2 separate regions of the Homo sapiens genome follow, and region 2 is linked to region 1. The links are contacts of gene promoters, found by promoter capture Hi-C in blood cells and fetal thymus (Javierre and others, 2016). All regions are on one chromosome and are shown on one strand. Each heading gives the region's core, a stretch centred on a gene start or on the middle of the fragment in contact. The rest is flanking DNA. Distances are from core to core; before and after follow the strand shown.

The links. Contacts are between HindIII fragments. The CHiCAGO score rates a contact against its expected background, and 5 or more counts as called.
Region 2: a contact is called between a fragment that was not itself captured here and the fragment with the promoter of MCAT in region 1, in 2 of 17 cell types (total B cells and naive CD8 T cells). The highest score is 6.5, in total B cells.

The regions. Positions count from the first base shown.
Region 1 is chr22:43,141,597-43,144,647 of GRCh38, forward strand. MCAT (malonyl-CoA-acyl carrier protein transacylase) reads right to left here and starts at 1,802. Exons shown (of 4, transcript NM_173467.5): 1 at 1,330-1,802. The coding sequence starts at 1,752. RefSeq lists a silencer at 1,557-1,826. The HindIII fragment of the contact is 11,018 bases long and covers 1-3,051 here.
Region 2 is chr22:42,869,340-42,872,390 of GRCh38, forward strand. It overlaps PACSIN2 (protein kinase C and casein kinase substrate in neurons 2), which reads right to left. Exons shown (of 11, transcript NM_001184970.3): 11 at 434-2,130. The coding sequence ends at 2,018. It overlaps LOC101927393 (a long non-coding RNA gene), which reads left to right and starts at 2,075. Exons shown (of 3, transcript XR_001755575.2): 1 at 2,075-2,164; 2 at 2,646-2,746. The HindIII fragment of the contact is 295 bases long and covers 1,339-1,633 here.

The DNA of each region.
Region 1 (3,051 bases), core at 552-3,051:
GTTTTGCTCTTGTTGCCCAGGCTGGAGTGCAATGGCGTGATCTCGGCTCACTGCAACGTCCGCCTCCCGGGTTCAAGCAATTCTCCTGCCTCAGCCTCCCGAGTTGCTGGGATTACAGGTGTCCACCACCACACTTGGCTAATTTTTGTATTTTTAGTAGAGACGGGGTTTCACCATGTTGGCCAGGCTGGTTTTGAACTCCTGACCTCGTGATGCACCCACCTCAGCCTCCTGAAGTGCTGGATTATAGGCATTATAGGCGTGAGCCACCTCGCCCGGCCAAGAGCATTTTTATCTCATCTGTGAAATGAGGGAAGAACAGGGCCTACCCCAAAGGGCGGATGAGAGAATTATGTGAATATAATGTCTATACAGTGCTTAGCACAGACCCAGACTAGGGTAAGCAGTGAATGAATATTATGATGACGATTCAACAGGACCACTTAACTAATTCTTTTAATATCCCTGAGTCTGCATTCCTCAACCATCAAATAACAGTATTAACCTCACAAGGTGGTGTGAAGGTGAAATAGGGTAAAGGATCTCAAGTGCTAGCTTAACATTTACCGTCTTATTAAATATTAATAGCAATCAATCCACCACCTTCAAGTGAAGTGACATTCTCAACTCATCTCAATGTTCCTTCATTTAGGCCAGTGCAGTGGCTCATACCTGTAATCCTAGCACTTTGGGAGGCCGAGGTGGGTGAACCTGGGAGGATTTAAGTAAAGAATAAAAAAATTAGCCGGGCGTGGTGGTGTGCACCTGTGATCCCAGCTACTGCGGAGGCTGAGGCAGGAGAACTGCTTGAACCTGGGAGGCAGAGGTTGCAGTGAGCCAAGACTGCGCCATTGCACTCCAGCCTGGGTGACAGAGCAAGACTCTGTCTCAAAAAACAAAACAAAACGGGCCGGGCACGGTGGCTCATGCCTGTAATCCCAGCACTTTGGGAGGCCGAGGCGGGCAGATCACGAGGTCAGGAGATCAAGACCATCCTGACTAACACGATGAAACCCCGTCTCTACTAAAAATACAAAAAATTAGCCGGGCATGGTGGCGGGCGCCTGTAGTCCCAGCTACTTGGGAGGCTGAGGCAGGAGAATGGCGTGAACTCGGGAGGCGGAGCCGAGATCGCGCCACTGCACTCTAGCCTGGGCGACAGAGCGAGACTCCGTCTCAAAAAAAAAAACAAAAACAAACAAAAAAAAAAACTCGATCGAATGAGTAAGACGTGGGAGCCCCCGGAATGGCAGGCGGAAGCCTCTGGCAGGGCCAAGAGCTCAGGCAGAGCTCACCTTCCCCCTCCTGTCACGGGGCCTCGGGCCTCACCGAGGGCTGCAGGTGATGTAGTTTCTCGACAGCGGCCAGCGATGCCACGAAGATCGCGGGCTGACAGTGCACGGTGCGGTCCAGGGTCTCCTGCGGCCCGTGCAGGCTCAGTTCCAGCAGGTCGTAGCCCAGCACGCGGCGGGCGGCGGCGTAGAGTTCGCGGACGCGCGGGTAGTTGAGCAGACCGCGGCCCATGCCCACCACCTGGCTGCCCTGGCCCGGGAAGAGCAGCACGGAGCACTGGCCCGGCATTCGCCGCTCCGTCGCCGCCCAGGGCGCCTCCTCCTCCGCCCCGGTCGCATCTCGCAGCAGCTCCGCTACACCCTGGGCGCCCGGCGGAGGCACCGGGAAGCTCGAGGCGCCGCGGCGGTAGCTGGCGCCCAAGCCCCTGACCCACGCTACCCGTGCGACCCGGACGCTCATGGTCGGACACCTGCCCGCGCGCGTTACCGTGGCGACCGAGGCCCGACTGCGGCGGCGCGGCGCAGCGTGGTCCCTGACGCATTTCCTGCCGGGGCTTCCGGGGCACCGGGAGCGGGAAGAAAGGTTCCGCAGACGCTGGTTCCGCCCCGGCTCTGAGGCCCTTCGGGCTGCGTTCTGGGGTCCTGGAGGGACTCATGCGTTTACTTAAACAGCCATAGCCGTTGAACGGAACACGATGCCACACCACAGTGGGTCCTCAACAGATATTTATGGAATAAATAACGCAACGCAATGTAGTATTTACGCTTTCTACCTGGCACATGAAGAGCACTTGAAACTCTTCCACATTGATGGTTTTTGTTGTTGTCGTTGTTGTTGTTTGTTGTTGTTTTTTGAGACGGAGTCTTGCTCTGTCGCCCAGGCTGGAGTGCAGTGGCGTGTTCTTTGCTCACTGCAACCGCCGCCTCCCAGGTTCAAGCGATTCTCCTGCTTCAGCTTCCCGAGTAGCTGGGATTAACAGGCGCCCGCCACCATGCCTGACTAATTTTTGTATTTTTAGTAGGGACGGGTTCACCATGTTGGCCACGCTGGTGTCGAACTCCTGACCTCAGGTGATCCACCCGCCTCGGCCTCCCAAAGTGCTGGGATTACAGGCGTGAGCCACCGCGCCCGGCCAGCAACCACATTTCTTGCATATGATCCTCCCAACCACAGGAGTTGGCATGGCCGACCATCCGTTGCCAGTTCCCAACTATACAACAGCTCTCTTTTATAATGTTTTCTTACAAACCACACAGTGCTTGGCACATAATAAGCATCCAATAGATCTTTATGCTATTGAACAAAGCCTTGAATGTGTTTCAGATATTAGCTTATTTAATTCCTCACAGCAACGCTGTGATGGATAGCTGCTCAGAGATTGAGTGACAGGTGGTTAGTGACAGAATGGAGGTTGGAAATTGGGGTTATCTAATGTTAACCTAAAAGCAACTCAAGAGACACAGGCTCGGCCAGGCGCAGTGGCTCATGCCTGTAATCCCAGTACTTTGGGAGGCTGAGGCAGATGGATCACTTGAGGTCAGGAGTTCAAGACCAGCCTGGCCAACATGGAGAAACCCCGTCTCTACTAAAAATACAAAAATTAGCTGGGCGTGGTGGTGGGCGCTTATAGTTCCAGCTACTCGGGAGGCTGAGGCAGGAGAATCCCCTAAGCCCGGGCAGCAGAGGTTGCAGTGAGCCGAGATCCCACCACTGCACTCCAGCCTGGGTGACAGAGCAAGACTCCGTTTCAAAAAAAAA
Region 2 (3,051 bases), core at 236-2,735, 270 kb before region 1:
TCCTCCTCGGTAGAATGGAAATGGGGAGACTTGCCCATACCCTGTGGAGATGTTTGGAGACGCAGATAATGTAAGTAAAAAGTGGAGAGCACACAGTAGGTGCTCAGGAAAATGTGCTCATAGGAGAGTTATGGGTGATGTCAGTCTTGTCCTGCTGTTTGGGCTGGGGCAATAGAGAGGCGCCAGCCGATGCCCGCACCATGTGGAAGCCCAGGTCAAACAGCAGCAGGTCTCGGGGAGAAGGGAACCCCAAGGGGCTCAGGTGCCTCAAATCCCCAACCTCCAGTTTGGCAGGGGCAGTGGGCCGTGGCCTTTTGGGCAGGGGTCCTGTGCCCTGGATCTTGCCCAGCTCCAAAGCTAGTAAGCCCCAGGGAGGCCACCCCCGCCAAGTGAAGTGGGCATGAAGACAGATGATGGCGAAGGGACTTCCATATGCACGAGATCAACTGTTTATTGATTTTTTTCCTCAAATACTACACATGTAAAGGAACTGTTAAACTGAAAAAGACTTGACAATTTTTGGTAAATCCGTAGCACAGAAATGAGGATTTCTGCTGGTAAGTTCTCAGGACAGACACAGACACAGGTCCACTTTCCAAGCAAGACATCTGCTCACTGGAAACGGAGTGAATGCATAGCTGGTGACGGCGGCGGGCACTGCTGAGTCACGTGAAACACAGGTTCCCCCACGTTCCCCCCACCCCCGCCGGCCCGCGTGGCCCCCGCGTAACTCTGGCTGCAGCACCTGCTCCCGGGCGACTCCGGGCAGCCCGAGACACTCGTGCTGCGGGTAAGACCCAGCTTCTGTTTGTGCACAAGTAACACGACGACTGAAATCTGCAACTACTGCAAAGACGCGGGCACTTTTACAGTGTTCTGCTACGGAGCCAGGACAAAGGCCGGTCAGAAGCCGGACCAGCAGTCAGCTGGTGACGACGAGCCTCCCTCCAGCAGGCACCACGTCAGAGAGGCCCCAGGCCCACTGAGCCCGGGAGGAGACCCAGCCGGCCAGCCAGACGTGTGCCTGAATGCCACAGACTTCAAGCAGTTTACAAACGAAACTCACTGTTAAAAGCTGTTAAATCTCATTAAAACAGTAGACGAGTGCTTTAGATTCTCTGAATATCAAATAATATATACAGATAGACACTGAGACATGACAGTCTAATCTAAAGCATCTTTACAGATGCATTTGCTTGAAAAGTTAGTCTTCTTTTTAACTCTGAATCAGTGATAAAATTGTTAATTTGCAAAAGAGTACAGTTTTAAGCAAGAATAGAGTGAAAATAATTTTTAAATATGGCGATTTGGGGGAGTTCTACCTAAGGTTCTATGTAAAGCTTCCATTCAGATGCCCAAAAGCACAAAGAGCATTCCCAATAGAAACCCGACCATAACCCGGTCCCACCTTCCTGGCATAATTCCTTTCCTCAAACATCTGCCACCTGAGGCTAAGCCTACACACGGCGTGGCTGAGTAACAGGGTAAGGGAATAGGGAGATCGTTTCCTCAAGACTGGTGCGCATCAATCTGTGCCATAATTTAAGTAGAAATGAACAGGTGTATAAAAAAGTATAACTGTACACAGCCTTTAAATTAAAAACCTCAAAATCTTCACTCAAAATGGGATGTAAGCTTGTTCATTTAAGTTGCAGGTGATGGACTCGTCAGAGAGAGTAATCAGTGGAACAAGATCAGTGTAACCCACCATTGACTCGGAAAGGAGAGACAAAGTCAAGAACATAGAGATCTATGATAGGCCAACAGGCACAGTGGGCGGGGAGGGGCGGCTATTTCTGTTGTTCTGCGTCTTCCTGCGCTCAGATCCCTCCAGCTGCACTCGGAAAGGTGCCGAGTCCCAGGCGAAATGACCAGCTCATCTGCCTTCCAGGAACACCATGAAGCCAAGAGCAATGGAACCATCATCTCTTGCAGGAAAAGGAGTGGATGCCCACGTGGCTGGCTGAGGCTCCTGGGCCCGCCGCCTCCGTCCCCCCGCTGGCCTGTCCCCGACTCATCACTGGATCGCCTCCACATAATTTGCCGGGTATAGGCCAACTTGCCCGTTGTCCAAGCGTCCCTTGCACCAGCCCTGCTCATCCTCGTCCTCCATCTTGGTCAGCTCATCCCCTGCAAGACAAAGAGGGAGCCGTCTCCATGAGAGGTATGACACCGACGGTGGGCTACAGAGCCGCATTCACGAGCTTTGAGCCCACAGAGGGTGGAGGGCCAGGCATTCTGTGGCGGGCAGGCCGAGGGCCTGGTCATTTCTCTACTAAATGCATGCATTTTAAGTTGCCTCTTTGGTCATGGGCCTCTGACAGACCTAGAGATGACAGTCTCACACAGTAATTTGGAACAAGCTGCTCTCAGCTGCCACAGTGGCTCCCACTGAGACTGCGGCATCCAGCTCCATAGGGCTGTGCCTTCCTCACCACCCTGGCCAGGTGGCAGGAATCGTCCCTCGGTTGTGCCCCTCCCTCACGTTGGGCCTCTTCTGTCCCCTCCCCAGGGCCCCGGCCGCCTTGCTCCCAGCAGCTGTCTCTGGGGTCTCTCTGCCTTTGCTAATCCCTCTCCTCTGCAACTTCCAGGCTGCGAGGGGAAGGGACCATGTCTGACAGTCATACCTGTCATTTTATCCCCAGCACCTGGCTGATGACTTGTGCACGGTGCCATGTGTCAACCCTTCCTGAGACCCTGAGAAGGAGCCCCTGGCGCTGTTCTGGAATCTCCCTGTGGCTCTAATGTATTAACGTGGTTCCATTTATCTTTGGTTGTTCCAACCTGAAGGACCTCCTACTTCTGGCCAGGCCTTGGGTAGAAGAGGAGATACAGAGATGAGAGGAACTGATGGATCCTGGTCTCAAGGAGGCAGACTAGGGTGGTGAGGGGGAGGTGGCACTAGGGTAGGGCCCCAGGTCTGGCATTTGCCAGGTTAGGGAAGCAGAGCAGCTCAGAGCCCAGGGGTGGGCAGGGGCCTGTGTGCTTCTGGTTGGTAACTCACTGCAGGGAAGGCCAGTTGGGCCTGCTGGCTCGGACCTCGTCAGGAGC